Linked DNA regions of Homo sapiens: regions 2 and 3 are each linked to region 1. Evidence: promoter capture Hi-C in 16 types of primary human blood cells and fetal thymus (Javierre and others, 2016). All regions are on one chromosome and are shown on one strand. Each heading gives the region's core, a stretch centred on a gene start or on the middle of the fragment in contact. The rest is flanking DNA. Distances are from core to core; before and after follow the strand shown. Region 1 holds the start of BORCS6 (BLOC-1 related complex subunit 6). Region 2 holds the start of KDM6B (lysine demethylase 6B). Region 3 holds the start of CHD3 (chromodomain helicase DNA binding protein 3).

Region 1 (5,094 bases), core at 708-3,207:
ATCTCCACCCCCACCCCACTCCCAGCACCAGCCCCAAGGGAGCTGCGTGAACAACACCGACCCTCATTCCCATTCCTTTGGCTTATTAATCACTGCAACCCCACACAGACTCAGCCTCAGCCTTCGCAGCAGCAGCACTTTAATTCCACAAAAACTCAGAAAGCCAAAACTGATTAGAACACTCCACAACAGGTGAGCTTCAAAACCAGCAACATTCTACCTGAACCCTGAGAGCAGTGAGACGCCTCCCACCTCACCCCCTCCGCCGTGCAACCCATTCCTCCTAGCTGCACGCCGGTTCTGGCTGGGGAAGTGGTATGGTAGAGGGCCAGAGGGCAGAAGCAGAAGGCTCTCCATCAGCAGGGGTGCATCTTTGCCTGCGGGGTGTTTGGCCAAGGACGGCACAAGCTCCCACAGCCCCTGGCACCTGAGATGTGGCCACTGGAGTCAGGATAGCCACAGTGGGGGCTGGGGCTTCCTCTGTCCCTTTCTCCTGATTACATGTGGGAGTCACGTCCTCACCTTCAAGCAGACCTAAAGCCCCGTGTTCCCAGGGCTGGTGCTCTAGCTAGGGAGGAGAGTTGGGAAGAACAGGGTAGCTACAGATGGCCAACTGAATACAAGCAGAGCAACATCCCTTCCCACCAGGAGAGCCGTTAGAACTTCCCCACATACACCAGCCTAAGGCCCAGCGAGTGGGCACGGGCCAGCTGAACGCATCTGGAAGAGCCTCCAACACACAGGCCTCCCCTCAGTGGGCACTTCCCACCAGGACTCCCTGAAGAGTCCTTAGGGTCCTGCTGGGCCCTGCCCTGGCCAGGACCGGCCTCTCCTGTCCTCCTGGTCACTTGCACAGGGCCTCCAACACCTCCAGAGTACGTCGGATATCCCGGACTTGGCGCGCCAGCCCCTGAACCGGCTGCAGAGCCCGCTCCAGCTCCTCGCAGCGCGCCAGCAGGGTGTACATGCCCTTGATGCTCATGTCCACGGCTTCACCTAAGGAGTCCACAGCATCGCGGTAGGTCTGGATGCAACCCACGCTCAGCGCCGTCAGCTCCTGCACCGCGCCACCCAGACCGCGAAGCAGACGGTCCACCCGGCCTCCCAGCTCCCGACTCAACCGCTCCAGATCCCGCAGCACCTCGGGGTCGATTGGGGGAATGGCCGGTGTGGGTGTGGGTGCAGGCGCTGGGCAGGGCCGCGCAGGGGCAGAAGGCGGGGGTGGAGGCGCGCCGCTCAGACGGATCTTGAGTTGCAGGTTGTTGGCGACAAAGTGGGTAAGGTCGCCGTGGCGGCTCACTGTGCCTTCGAGCTCCAGGGGACTGGAGATGGTGGCGCGGCGTCCGCCGCCCGCGCCGGACTCGGCACTCCCTGAGGACCCGGCGCCACCGCACGCCTCGCTCAGCCCGTCCAGGCTGCGGCTGTCCTGAAGACGGCTGGAGAACGAGCGGCCGGCTCTGCTGCCCGCGGCCGCCTCCTCGTCGTTGTCTTCCTCCTCCTGCTGCTCAACATCCATCCCGCCGCCTGGTCCCCCTCGACGGCAGTCCCTCCCGGAGGAGGGCTTGCCCTCGGGCGGCGCCGGGTTCTTGTGCCGGGAGGACAGGGAAGGTTCGTGCTCTGCACCCGGCGCCCCCCTGCGGCTCCCGGCCCCAGACAGCGTCCCTTGAGGGCCGGGCTCGTTCTCCAGAGCCTCCCGTTCCGGCCGGTGGACGACGCCGCAGCTTGACGTCTTCGGGGACGTCCTGGGGTGGCGGTTCGCGCCCCCAACGTTCTCGGTCTCTTCCTCCCCGGACACCCGGAGGCCTGCGGGCGGCTCAGAGGACGTTCGGCCCGGCCCGCCGCCAAAGACTAGGGCCTGATGTTCCGCTACAGCCAGAAGGTCCGTCTCGGGCCCGGGCCGCCCCCGAGACGACTCCATACTGCAGGTGGGGGCCGCAACGGAGGAATTGGTTCGCCCCGGCTCCGGAGGCAGTGGCTGCGCCTTTAAGGGGCGTTGGTAGAGGCGAGCCGATTGGCAGCGGCTGACAATGGTAAGGACAGGAAAAGCATTTTGATTGGTCGCGGCGACCAGGAAGTCCCGGAAGAAGAGCTGTTACTGCACAGCGGAACACACGTGAACGCCGGCAGGGTGGAGAGAAGGAGGTGACAGCTGCTCCCGTCGCCCCGCCCTTTCTGAAAGCTGATGGGGCAGATCTTAAAGACCAAGGTCCTCAAATTCCTGAGTCCCGAGGGGTGGGGCTCAGATCCTTTCTGCCTGTAATTGTACCCCCCCCAACAGTGATTGCTTAGCAAAAATACCAAGTGGGGAGCCCACTTGGGGTTCCTAGAGAGGTTCTTAGGATGAAAATGGCATATCCTTCTTGGACCATCAGGGTTGAACCTAGTTGACTAAAAAGAAGGAAACCAGAAGTCCAGCATGAGCATGAATGGTTTGCTCTATCTTTCTTGGTTAAGAGACCTAACCACTGAACTGCTCAGAGCGACCCACTGTGGTCAAGGCAGCGGCCTCTGGGCTTTCCTATGCGTTTGTCACTCTTGTTCTGTGTCTCTTGCCCCTTTCACACTGAGGGGTCTCGCCCCTTGGAGGATGGCGTGTGATTTTGCCACGAGGTAAAATATTCAACAAATGAAATGATCACAAATTTTGATATGTGCTATACAGGAAATAAAGTGTTATGATTGAGAATATAACTGAGCAGGCACTAGTTTAGGTAAGGGGTCAGGAAAATACCTCTTTGGTGAGACTTTTAACTAAAAAGAACCAAAAAGACGCAGCCACCCCCCAGGCAGAGAGAAGAAAACTTGAGCTACCTCTCAGAGACAAAGAAGTCTTGACGTATTCAAGAAACTGAGGTGAGGGGGCAGGAGACATTGGGACTAAAACAAAATCAGCAAGATAAGGGGAAGGATTTCGAGCCAAGGAGCTGAACAGGCAGCAGGGGCCACGTCATGCAGGGGGCCTTGTAGTTCCTGTTAGGGAATGGAGATTTCCTCTAAATGCAATGGTGCAGCGACATTGGAAAGGTTGTACATTGCAACACATAGCCAAAGCTTGGAGACATCAGTATTTTTATTTATTTATTTATTTATTTATTTATTTATTTATTTATGTATTTAGAGACAGAGTCCCACTCCGTCACCCAGGCTGGAGTGCAGTGGCGCGATCTCGGCTCACTGCAACCTCCGCCTCCTGGGTTCACGCGATTCTCCTAACTCAGTCTCCCGGGTAGCTGGGATTACAAGCGCCCGCCACCACGCCCGGCTAATTTTGTATTTTTAGTAGAGATGGGGTTTCACCATGTTGGCCAGGCTGGTCTTGAACTACTGGCCTCAAGTGATCCACCCGCCTCGGCCTCCCAAAGTGCTAGCATGACAGGCGTGAGCCACCGTGCCCGGCCAGACATCAGTATTTAATAAAAACAGTTTGCTAACTCTCCTTAGCTGACAAAGGATGTGGTTGTTTTTTCCATTTGGATAGAGAGATGTCTTGAGGCAGTGTCATGCCAGCATTCAGAAGTGCAACTCCCCAGAACTTCCCAGCACTACTATCCCCAGGTGCCTGCCGGGGTCCTAGCCAGCCAACCCTAATGATAGTAGCTCAATCTTTCACCACGCCTGAGGAGTCCACAATTGTCAGCTGTCTGTATCTTATAGTCACCTGCAGCTTGACAAAACCTGTCATTCCTTTGCTCTAAAAAAAAAAACCTAAAAAGCTCATATATAATTGGGCTGGGTAGGTAGATATTCTTTAGAAGATGGGAGGACTTCCCTTGAGAATGGGAAGCTGAGCACAGGAAGAGAGTGATGTGATGGGATTCATGTTTAGGGATTACTGGCTGTTGTAGAAAATGTTTGCAAGGGAGACGGTAGACCAGTGAGGAGGCGGTTCCAAGTACCAGGTGATAGTAGCTCAGCCTAGCACGATGTGGATGGATGCATTCTAGATGTATCTTGAAGGTTTTAGCGGACAAATGGGCTACCCACCGTCTCTCTGTGTAGGGGAAGCTCCTCACTCCTCAACTCCCCATTCCCTGATGTGTTGGTGCAATGACAGCCAGGAACAGGCACGTGACCCAAAACTGGCCAATTAGAGTACTTCATCCTTCTGACTGCAGATTGGCTCAGGGAAGGGCACATGACCCAATGTATGACCAGTAAAAATCCTCCACAGTGTTGTTTGTTTCTAGCTTTGTGGAGAGTGTGAGACGCCTTTCTGTTCTCTTGAGAGCTCAAGCTGGGTATCAGCTTGTCCATCTTTCATGTCCAGGAGATCGCTGTCTGTAGAAGGAAAGAATGAGGCTGATAAGGAAGAGAACCAGAGACAAAAGATGAAGAGGCATGAGTTCTGAGAGCGTTTGAATTCCTGTGCCAGCCTGAAGATAGCCCCACCTTTATCCTTCCTGTGATTTGGTTCCTTGCCCCACCCCTATCGCACCACCTCCCCCGCAAAACCTTGTTTCTTCCTACGGTGACTTCTGTCTCAGTAAGTGGCAACTCCATCTTCCCAGTGGCCAAGGCCAAAAACCCTGGAGTTGTACTTGACTCCTCTTTCTGTCATAATCCATGGCCAATCCTTTAGGAAATCTTGTTGGTTCTGCTCGAAAATACATCCAGAATCTGACCACTTCTCATCCTTACCATTGTTTCTGCCCTGGTCCAAACCACCATCATTTTTGGCCTGGATAAATGAAGTTGCTTCCCGAATGGTCTCACTTCTTCTACCCTCACCTCTCTCTACAGTCTATTTTCAATAGAGAACCAGAATGATCCTTTAAAAATGTAAATTATCAGCAGGGCGCGGTGGCTCACGCCTGTAATCTCAACACTTTGGGAGGCCGAGGTGGGCGGATCACGAGGTCAGGAGATCGAGACCATCCTGGCCAACATGGGGAAACCCCGCCTTTACTAAAAATACAAAAACATTAGCCCGGTGTGGTGGCGCGCACCTGTAATCCCAGCTAATCTGGAGGCCGAGGCAGGAGAATCACTTGAACCCGGGAGGCGGAGGTTGCAGTGAGCCGAGATTGTGCCACTGCACTCCAGCCTGGCAACAGAGCGAGACTCCGTCTCAAAAAAAAAAAAAAAAAAAAAAAA
Region 2 (5,094 bases), core at 2,595-5,094, 350 kb before region 1:
ATCAGGGCTGAACCCCGTACACTGCACCCTGAGGCCCGCACCCTGAAGCCCGCACCCCGCACCCGGCATCCTAGCCGGCACCCGCCCTGAGGCGAGCGGGACCGGCAGAAGACGGGGCGGAGCCGGAGAGGGGGACTAGAGCGCGAGGAGGGGCGGGACCACAAGGGGGCGGGGCTGGGGAGCGGGGGTGCGGGTGTTTGTGTTGGAAAATCCAACTGCGCCACTGGGCGGAGCGGCCCCCCCAGCCCCGGCCTGGGAGAAGGGGGGGCCGCTCGACCCCCTGGGATACCTTGGGGAGCCTGAACACCTGGGACCCCCCCCAGAACCAGGTAACGGGGAGCCGCGAGGACGTCTGTAAAGAGGGAAACCCTCTCCTTGCAGCAGGGCAGGACGCCTGAGTCTCTGGAGGGGTAGAGCTGGGGATGGACGTTTGGGTCTTGGGAAGGGCACTGGGAAGAAGACTGGGGCGGAGGTCATGGGTCCCCTAGAAGAGAGAACGGCGGGGAAGGAGGAAGAACTGGGAGGCAGATGTCTCAGGTTCCAAATGTCCAGAGGGGCCTGAAAGGACTCCCCGTTCCCCTTGGGCTGGGATTCCCCTTCCCGACTCCAGGGCGGGGCGGGGCGGGGCGCGGCGGTCCTTACTGAAGGGCAGGACTAAAGGGCAGAGTTTGCAGACAGGTCAATGCCATGGCCCAGTAAGGTCAGATGTGGTCAGACTTGGGTGTGTCCCGGTCCCAGGACTACTTTAAGTCTCCCTCCAGTTCTCTGCACGGGTGAGGTGTAGAAGCCTCAGCCTGACCTTCCCACCAGCGGCCCCGAGAGCTTCCCAGCGGTAGCCTTCGCCTTCTTCCCACCACCCCCCTGCGCCTCCCTTTCACTCCGTCTCGCCCCGCTAGCCTCCTCATCCCTAGTCCTTCTCCCACTCCGCCGTTCCCGAACCCTAGCGCGCCCCGCACGGCTTCTCGGTGCGGAGCCTTCCCAACGTAGCCACAAGATGGCGAGGGCGAGACGCACCCAGGGCAGGTGGGGGATGTGACCGTGAAAGTAGCTGAAGCCCCCCGCCCCGGTCCGAGGGAAAGGTAGGCTGAGGCCCCCACTTGACTTCCTGTGATCTGGGCCCCCTCACAGGAAATTGTGGGCAGGAGGTCGCAGCGCAGAAGACGGGGAGGGGGCTGGGGACTCAATCTCCGCCTCTCCCGGCTGGGGTAAATAGTGGGGAGGGGGGCACGCGGGGTGGTTGCTAAGCGACGTAGATTCGCTTCCTGTTTGCTGCAGCTTATGTTGTGACACTGGTGGGGGTTAGAGACAGCGGAGGGCCTGAAGACTGTGGGGAAGGCCGAGGGCAGGACGCCTGGTTCCCGGGACAGGAAGAGCCCTGGGAGGAAGGCGGGGAGGTAGCGAGCTGCGCCGCGACCGAAGGGGACTCGGTGGTTGTCCGGAGGGGGTTAGGGACCGAGGCGCAGCGTTGACCTCGGCTCCCCTTCCCTCCCCTGGGTTGCTTGTCCTGTTGCCAGAGTAACTGGAGGGCGAGACTTGGGAGCCGGATTCCCGAACTCTCCCGTCCGCCCAATCCGCTCCAGCGGTCGGCCCTGACGTCAGGGCCCTGGCAGCCAATGGGGAAGGGGGATGATAGCGACAGGAAAGGGAGAGGGGAGGGGCAGCGGCGGAGGCTGGGAGGCAGCAGCTGCCTGGGACCCGCACGTGCACTCCCACACGCTCGCGCCCACCCCCCGCCCTGCGCCGCACGCGCCCGAGCACCCCCTTGCGCCTGCGCGGCGAGCCGGGCGCCCCCCTCCCCTCGTGGAGTCTGTGTAAAGCCGCCTGAGGCTGCGCTCTTCAGCCCCTGGGGACCCACACGTCTCGGTCGGTCTGCACCGTTTCGCCGGTCGCGACCATAATGCCCAGCCTGGCTCGGGAGGGCCGACTACCTGTTCCCCACCTCCCCCCAGCTGGCGCCCCACACTCCCAGGTGGGCTGGGCGGAGCTGTGGTTTCCGGCCCCATCTGCTCGGCCGCTGCCTTCCCGGGCTCTGGCTTAAGTTGCTTTCCCAAGAGAAAGCGAGCGGGTACCAGCGCCCCTTCCCAAGGCTTCTCCCGCCCGGGCCCAGCTGCTGTTGGTGGCGGAGGAGGGCACTGCGGGGAAGCCCCGGACGGCCCAGGTGATTCTTCTGGGCCATCACGCCCCTTCTTCGCGTGAATTCCTGCTCTTTGATGTGCACCAAAACCCTTCCCATTCCTAACGTTTCCTCCTCGTTCGCCCCGGCGTTCTTTGCACCTCCCTCGGCTCCTTTCGGGCTGTCTGTCCCTGTCTCCACTCGTCCTTCTTCGCTTCTCCCGGTTATATAACTCTTCCTCTCGCCGTGTCCTGGTTTCAACTCCACAGACTCCGCCCTGGAACAGCGCGGGGAGGGGCGGGAGAGTTGGGGACCCAGACAGATTCCGGCTGGCGGCCGGCTGGGGCACGGGGGATCCTGCAGATGGAAGACGGAGCCCCGCGGGACCCGGTGCCCCCGTCCCCGCCTGCCGGCCCCCACCGAGATCTCGCCCAGGAGAGAGAAGGCACAGTATCTCCGAGGGGCGTGTCGGGCCGACTCCCGTCAGAAATGTGGGTTGGGAGGTCAGGGCTGCAGGCGGAGAGGAGGAGACAGGCAAGAGGCCTGAGTCCCTGGGATTGGAGTCGTATTAGGGGTAAAAGAGATAAGGACGCCTGGGTTTCTTCTTATGTCTCCTTTTTGGGTTCCCAGAATTCCTAAGGGTGTTTCCAGTGTTTCCAGGAAGCTTAGCCAGCACACCCACTCCGCCCCGTAGGGGTCAAAGGTCTGTGTTAGAGGTGGCCTGGGATGATGTCACTAGTGCACGTGCCCCGGGATGGTTGCCAGGCAATGAGGCTTCCTCCCCCTTCTATTCCCTCCCACCTCTGCCCCGAGTCCAGTTCCAGTCCCGTGCCATCTCTTTCCCCTCTCCCTTCCCGTGGTCTTAGCATCCTGCAGGTGGGAAACCCCGGCCTGGAGTTTTGTGAGGGGGAGGGGCACGGGTGTGGTGTGGCTGAAAGACTTTGCCCCTTTGCTGGGCTGAGGGAGCCTTGGGTCACTTTTCCCTAGATTGGCACAGAAGAGCTTCCCCTCCAAGGCTCCGCCCCCATAGAAAAAGCTACCTAGCCGTCATTTTACTTTCCCACCTGCTGCATGGCCAAGTGTCCTATTGCCCCCTTCCCCAGATTGATTTGAAGTGGGAGTGGTTGAAAGACGGAAGAGTTGTGTGTAGTATGGGGGGGGGTTCACTACACACCAGCTTATCCCTGAAATCCCCATAATGGCACACCCCCATCTGCAAACAATGAAAGGAAAAGGGTCAAGAAACAGTATTAGGCTGAAAAGTCAGGGTCTTTATTGTGTGTATGCGGGTGAATCGGTTTGTAGCCTCTCACTTGGTGGAGGGGGACTCAGTTGATTGCTATGGTTGTTCTTCTCTATTAAGTCCCAGGGTTGGTGATGGTATTGGAATGAATCGGTTTGTGCTTTTATGTACCTTAGAGCTTGGGCTGTCAGATCAGACCTGGATTCTAATTCTAGCTCTGTCACTTAGTGGCTACTAGGACTTGGAGAGGTCAGAACCTCTCTGAGCCTCGTATGTTAATCTTGAACATTTAAATATCAACACCTACCTTGAAGGCCGCTGGGAGGAAAAAAATGAGATAATTTATGCAAATCACTTAGCACAGTGCCTGGCACAGAATGAACACAGAATGAGTGCTTGTTGTTATGAAATACTTTTATTATTAAATGGTGTTAGTTACTAGTTTATTATTATTGCTGTGGGTCTGCTCCAAACCAGCGGTAACCGTAGGAGTTTGTTAAGGGGTAGTGGATAGTTTGTGTTAATTTGGAGATTGGGGTTAGGGGGCTGGGGATTAGCTTCAACTGCTTTGTGCATTTTATTTGATGAAGGCTTTAGGCAGATTTGTATTGCTTTCTTTAGGATTATTTTTTTTTCTCTTGGACAAGAAATAGCTAAGACTATTCCGTGGGCCTTGAAAATAAAATAATTGTATTATGGTTCTTGATTTTGAAGCAAGACCCCAGCCCCCTCCCGTGTTGATCTCTGGAGCCTTTCGTTTTGCAGAGGGACTCCACAGTTTCTCTAGTGGGGACAGGGCTAGGCTGAGGGGTGTGTAAAAGGTTGGGGTGGGTGGGTGGAGAGAGACTAGTGCTGGGGGCTGGGGGGGCGGGTAGTTAAAGGAAGAGACCGGAAGGGAGGAGGAGGGAGCCTGCTGGTGGGGAGGGAGGGAGGGGAGGAGGAGGTGGAGGAGGAGGAGGAGGAGGAGGGAGGGGGTTGGGGAGAGCCTGCTACAGTTCTTTGTTTGACTCCGGGACTCAGGGACGGGGAGGAGGAGGGAGGGAATAGAAGGGGGAGGAAGCCCCCCCCCCCACACACACACAAACACACACACCCCAGCTGTTGGACAGATGAATTACAGCCTCCGGCTTGGGGCCAGGGCTGGTGAGGGATTAAAGCTCTGGGGCTGGCCCTTTAAATGGCTGTTAGCCCCTCCCCCACTCTGTTGTCCAGACACCCCTCACACACCCTCTGACCCCCTAGGCTTCCCCCTCACTCCTCCTCTTGGTCTGTCCTAAAGTCTGCCCACTCTGCTCTCGACTAGCCCTTTCCTAGTCCCTCCCCCCAGCACAACCGCAGAACACAGATGCCACAGACTATAGATACACACTCTCTGCTCCCAGGTTATGAGCCTCCCTGTCCTGGAGAGTTCTAGCCTGAAGCTCCCTTCCCGAGCAGAAGGGCCTTGCCTGCCTGACCTCTACCACCTACAGCTGACCACTACCCTGGCTTAGGAAGGAGGCCTTGGTGGGTCACAAATAGCACCTCCCTGGGGGCAGTGTCATCAGCAGCCACAGAAGCTTGCGGAACATTGCATCATGGAGACTGGGGGCTAGAGGCCTGAGTCTCTGAGGCAAGGGGAAGGATGGGGGCCGGAAGGCTAGGGAATATAGAGATTAGATTGGGACCCCAAGTGTTTGGGTCCATAAGGGCAGAGAACTATGATTAAGGGAGCAGAAAACATAGGTCCCTGAGGAGC
Region 3 (5,094 bases), core at 1,717-4,216, 300 kb before region 1:
TGTTTTACATTCTTACTCAAGACCAATTTTATCCCTTCCCCCTCTCTCCAGTCTCCTTACATTGTTAAACGTTTAAAATAATAGCAGTCGTGTTGGTGGGGGAAGGGAGCAGGAAGCCAAAAACTCATTTCTTCTCCCTCCCCCTTCTGGCAAGTCGAGAGAAATAATATAACATAATATATAGATGTGATTCCTTGGGGGTGGGGGTGGGGAATGATTGTGGGTGGTGCGGAAAATTCTGGTAGTTTCTTTGCAAAAGGTCTGAAAATACAAACCCACCCCCTGCCTGCAGTACGCATGTGCAGCAGACCTATTATGGTGGTGCGTTGTGGGGGAGGGAGGGGAATTTGAGAAAAAATAAATATATGTGTGAGAGATTGATGGTGAGATTAGAAGAAGAGAGGGGCGGGCGGGAGGCGAGGCTTCGGCCGAGACTCCTCCCGCTTGCTCGGGCGGCCAGGCTCCGCCCTGCGCCCTCCGGCCCCCGCCTCTCTCCTCCCTGCCTCCCTGAGATCCGAGCCGGGGATGTGGGAGAGTCTGGGCTCCAGGCCAGCATTGAGTGGCTGCTGAGACCGAGGTTGGGACTTAGATTTGCTTTATTACCCTTCCTTGCTTTTCCTTGCCGTTCTCGCTTTGCCTCTCCCGCCACCGACGCCTGCCCAAGTTCGGGAACCTCCCGCTGGGGTGGGGAGTAGAGTGAACCGGCTTGTGCACCACCCCTGGCTGGTGGTGGCCGAGGCCGTGTCCCTGAACCTTAGCCAGTTGGCCTGCCCTTGCCACTGCCTCGGCAGCCTGCGTTTCCATGTTCAAGTCAACCGAAGTCCCTGGGGCCAGGGGGAGCCGGCTGCTGGGGCATGGCGCCTTCCTTGCTGACTTCCTATTACAGTCCCCATTCCGTTTCACACCCGGGCTCTGGCAGCCACCCCCCTGCACACACGCACACAGTCCTAGAGTGTCTTCCTGCACAAGGGGACACAGGATGCTGGAGTTAGCAGGAAAGGTGGCACTGAAGGAAGGCGAGGCAGCGACTCTGAGGCAGTGGAAACGGAGGCCTCTGGTGTTAATTGTGGCTAATTTTCCGTTGGCTGTTGAGGGAAGGAGAAAGGATTGTGTGTCCTAGAGCTAGGGGCTGGGCCAAGCCCAGGCTTTCCCATCTTGCATCGGCTGCCTCTCTCTGTACTAGACAGGTCTGGCTGGTTAGTCTAGTGCTTGGTAGGGGAGGGACGTGAACCAGAGCCCCAGGGCCCCAGGTCTGTGGGGCATCCTGTCTTCCTTTATGTGGGGTAACTCTCCGTTCCGTTCCCCAAGCCTTCACAGAGTGACACCTTCACAGATAATGGGGTGGGGGGCCTGGGGTCCTCTGGCAGAGACATCTGGGGAGAAAGCCAGGGACCTATCCCTGCTGAAGCAGGTACAGGCCATCCTCTGGATTTGTGGGCCTGAGAGTGTGTGTGGGTGTGGGTGCGCGCGTGCGCGCGCGTGCTTTTGAGAAGGCATATGCTGGGTGTGTCTGTCTGTGCCTATATCTTTGTTTGGGTCTCCCATACTGCGTATAGATGAATGGGTCAGGATATCTGGAACAAAATATGGAGGTGAAGGGTGAGATCGGGAAACAAAGGGTATGGCCCCCTAGTTCCCAAAGGGAGCAGGGAGATGGGAATAGAATTGAAGGTAGGTTTTAGGCTACTTGGGAGGAGGAATATTTAGGTAATTGTGGAGACTTTCTCCTGTGTGATGAAGGCGGCAGACACTGTGATCCTGTGGGCAAGAAGTAAAAATGACCAGCTGAGGATTTCTTTTCCTCCAGGACTGTGTTGGGGTGACAGGATGCCTGGTAATTATCCGAGGAAATGTAAATAGAGGCCTCCCTCTTGGCAAAAGGATGTCAGGGCCCCAGGGTGTTAGTGTGAGAACCCAGGTGTCCACCTTTGGCTCTCCCTCCCCAGCATCTGGCTTAGGGAGCTGCCAGCTTGTGTCTCCCCACTCCAAGTGCTGGGGTCAGGCCAGGCCAGCAGCTGGGCATGGCTTCCCCAGTTCCTGGGCAGGATGCCAGCTGGCGAAGTGAGGGGGAAGGCAGGAGGAGCCCTGGCGGTGACTGAAAGGACCTGCCACAGTCAGAGCCCATGGCCTGGAGCCTGGTCTCTTGTTAGTAGGAGGGGAGGGAGGGGAGTGGTTTGGCTGCTCTTCTCTTCTGACCCCTGACCTCCCATTCAGAACCAGAGCATCCCAGAGTACTCGAAACACTTTCTGTTTGCATCCAGTGAAGGGAGGCAGGGCTTGGAGGAGTTAATGCTTCCTAGAGAGTGGGAACTGCCGAGGTGGGGAAGGGGCAAGTTGAGGGGCCTCAGAGGCTGGAAACCTAGAGGCTTAGGTTTTCTGATGCTTTTTGCTTCAAAGATAAGGATGACATTCGGCTGCTGCCGTCAGCATTGGGTGTGAAGAAGAGAAAACGAGGACCCAAGAAGCAGAAGGAGAACAAGCCAGGAAAACCCCGAAAACGCAAGAAGCGTGTAAGTGTCAAGAATTCCTAACTCTGTGGCAAGGCTCAAGAGACCCATTCTCAGAGACCTACATTTTCTCTGGTCCTGATTACTGGTGTGGGGGTGGGGTTCTGAAGCCAGGGAGGCTTGATCCCCCGGGCCCCCCACTTCCCTGCCACTGTTGGCCTGTATCTCAGGGATCTGGGACCCTAACTTCATTCACTGCAACCTAGTGAAGAGCCTCGTTGTCAGTGTGTCCTCAGCAGCAAAGAGAAGCAGTTGAAAGCACAAGCTCTGGAAGACTGTATGAATTCAAGAGTCCAGCATTCCTCTGTCTAGGATACCAGGCCGTTTATTTGGCTCTCTGTGCCTTAGTTTCCTCATCTGTAAAAAGTAGATAAAGGCCGGTTGCAGTGGCTCACGCCTGTAATCCCAGCACTTTGGGAGGCTGAGCCGGGTAGATCATTTGAGGTCAGGAGTTCGCGACAAGCCTGGCCAATGTGGTGAAACTCCGTCTCTACTAAAAATACAAAAATCAGCCGGGCGCGGTGGTACGTCTGTAATCCCAGCTACACAGGAGGCTGAGGCAGGAGAATCGCTTGAACCCGGGAGGTGGAGGTTGCAGTGAGCCGAGATCACGTCAGTGCACTCCAGCATGGGTGACAGAGCAAGACTCCATCTCCAAAAAAAAAAAGGAGATAAAAAATTAGTTACTATCACAGGATTGTTGTGAAGATTAAAAGAGGTAAGATATGGTATGTGCTGAGAACAGTTTCTGGCAATGGTAGGGATGAATAAATGTTATTTTTATTTCTTTCTCTTAGGACAGTGAGGAGGAATTTGGTTCTGAGCGAGATGAGTACCGGGAGAAGTCAGAGAGTGGGGGCAGTGAATATGGAACCGGACCGGGTCGGAAACGAAGAAGGAAGCACCGAGAAAAAAAGGAGAAGAAGACAAAGCGGCGGAAAAAGGGGGAGGGAGATGGGGGGCAAAAGGTGAGTAGAATTAGGGAATGAGAGTGAGAAATCTGCATTAAAGACGGGCATGAGGAGGGGAGGAATGGAGACTGGACTGGAGAATGGGGCAAGAAGCAAGAAAGCCCAGGGAAGCTAGTGGGTAGGTAGACAGGCCTGTGTGCGGCCTGGAATAGGGGCTGGAGGAGCACCTACTTCACCAAAGCCCCTCTCCCGCAGCAAGTGGAACAGAAGTCATCAGCAACTCTGCTTCTGACCTGGGGCCTGGAGGATGTGGAGCATGTGTTCTCTGAGGAGGATTACCACACGCTCACCAACTACAAAGCCTTCAGCCAGTTCATGAGGTGCGGTAAGACTGGGGAATCCTCGCTAATTGACACTTTTAATTTGAGGGAGGTCCTGGACCCCTTGGAATCTGATGAAAGCTATGAAACTGCTCTCCAGAGAATTCACGGTGTATACACACCAAATTCTACACGTCATTTCAGGGAACTCCTAGACTCATAAGGATCCAAGAACCCCAGTTGAGAACTCTTCACTGAGGGGCGAGGGGTGGAGGGGCCATCATGATTCCAGTGCTGGGTTAGAGAACTCTTTAGCAACAGAATAAAGTGAGGACAGAATATAGTGAGCCCTCCCCTGCCCCAACAGCTCCATCTTCTGCTCTGTGACTTCTCTCTAGACTGGACCTGAGAGATACCATCAGTGTTCCTGAACTTCCTTAGCTCACTTAGCAGGTCCTGTGCCCCTTCCTTAGGCCCTGGTAATAATGGAGGGTCCACTGCTGGCAGTGGGACCTGAGCTTCAGTGGCTCCTGAAGAAAAGTAGAGAATAGTAGAGTAGAAAATAGCAGAGATGGGCCAGGTGCAGTGGCTCATGCCTGTAATCCAAGCACTTTGGGAGGCCAAGGCAGGTGGATCGCCTGAGGTCAGGAGTTCAGGACCAGCCCATCCAACATGGTGAAACCCCGTCTCTACTAAATACAAAAAAATTAGCTGGGCGTGGTGGCACATGCCTGTAATCCCAGCTACTCGGGAGGCTAAGGCAGGAGAATCGCTTGAACCCGGGAGGCAAAGGTTGTAGTGAGCCGAGATCACACCACTGCTATGCTCTAGCCTGGGCAACAAGCGAAACTCCGTCTCAAAAAAAAAAAAAGAAAAAATAGTGCCGATGTATTTTGTTTTGGGGAGAAGGCACTTTAACATATCAGTTCAGTGCTCTGGAGGCAGCTGCTGAGGTTCACATCTGGTTACATTTTGGGCAAGTGACTGAACTTCTTCAATCCTCAATTTCCTCTTCTATAAACGGGGAATAATAATATATACCTCATAGGAATCTGTGTGGGTTTGGTGGGATAATGAATGGAAAGCACAGTACCGTCAGTGCCTGGCTCCTAGGGAGCATTCAGTAACTGGTGACTGTCATTAGTAACGTTGTCTCACCTACCTTACTGCTGAACTTGGGGCTTTTCTCAGCACCATGGATCACCCGTGTCCGCACAAGAGTTGAGCACCCCACCCCAGAGCAGAACCAGCATGGTCTGACTCTTTCACACTCCGTCCTACGGAAGCCCATCTTCAGGGCCCATGGAACTTACTAGTAAAATGCAGAGAATCATAGCAACTCAAGAGTATTATTGT

The links. Contacts are between HindIII fragments. The CHiCAGO score rates a contact against its expected background, and 5 or more counts as called.
Region 2: a fragment that was not itself captured here is called in contact with the fragment with the promoter of BORCS6 in region 1 in 5 of 17 cell types (erythroblasts, non-activated CD4 T cells, naive CD8 T cells and 2 more); the score reaches 7.9 in erythroblasts.
Region 3: a fragment that was not itself captured here is called in contact with the fragment with the promoter of BORCS6 in region 1 in 1 of 17 cell types (activated CD4 T cells); the score reaches 5.8 in activated CD4 T cells.

Annotation. Positions count from the first base shown.
Region 1 is chr17:8,188,223-8,193,316 of GRCh38, forward strand. It overlaps BORCS6 (BLOC-1 related complex subunit 6), which reads right to left and starts at 1,958. Exons shown (of 1, transcript NM_017622.3): 1 at 123-1,958. The coding sequence starts at 1,918. The coding sequence ends at 845. LOC124903913 (a long non-coding RNA gene) reads right to left here. Exons shown (of 2, transcript XR_007065604.1): 2 at 3,053-4,278. RefSeq lists enhancers at 1,125-1,771, 1,750-2,029, 1,772-2,417, 4,235-4,334 and silencers at 1,210-1,259, 1,330-1,389, 1,590-1,639. The HindIII fragment of the contact is 3,696 bases long and covers 1-3,049 here.
Region 2 is chr17:7,834,022-7,839,115 of GRCh38, forward strand. KDM6B (lysine demethylase 6B) reads left to right here and starts at 196. Exons shown (of 24, transcript NM_001348716.2): 1 at 196-329. LOC124904106 (translation initiation factor IF-2) reads right to left here. Exons shown (of 4, transcript XM_047437265.1): 4 at 1,387-2,623. The coding sequence ends at 1,596. RefSeq lists silencers at 168-327, 1,578-1,997, 2,018-2,077, 3,618-3,767 and enhancers at 530-1,029, 2,698-2,747. The HindIII fragment of the contact is 2,138 bases long and covers 2,776-4,913 here.
Region 3 is chr17:7,887,267-7,892,360 of GRCh38, forward strand. CHD3 (chromodomain helicase DNA binding protein 3) reads left to right here and starts at 1,523. Exons shown (of 40, transcript NM_001005273.3): 1 at 1,523-1,834; 2 at 2,398-2,510; 3 at 3,305-3,475; 4 at 3,674-3,798. The coding sequence starts at 1,735. RefSeq lists a silencer at 386-545 and an enhancer at 1,955-2,524. The HindIII fragment of the contact is 7,252 bases long and covers 1-5,094 here.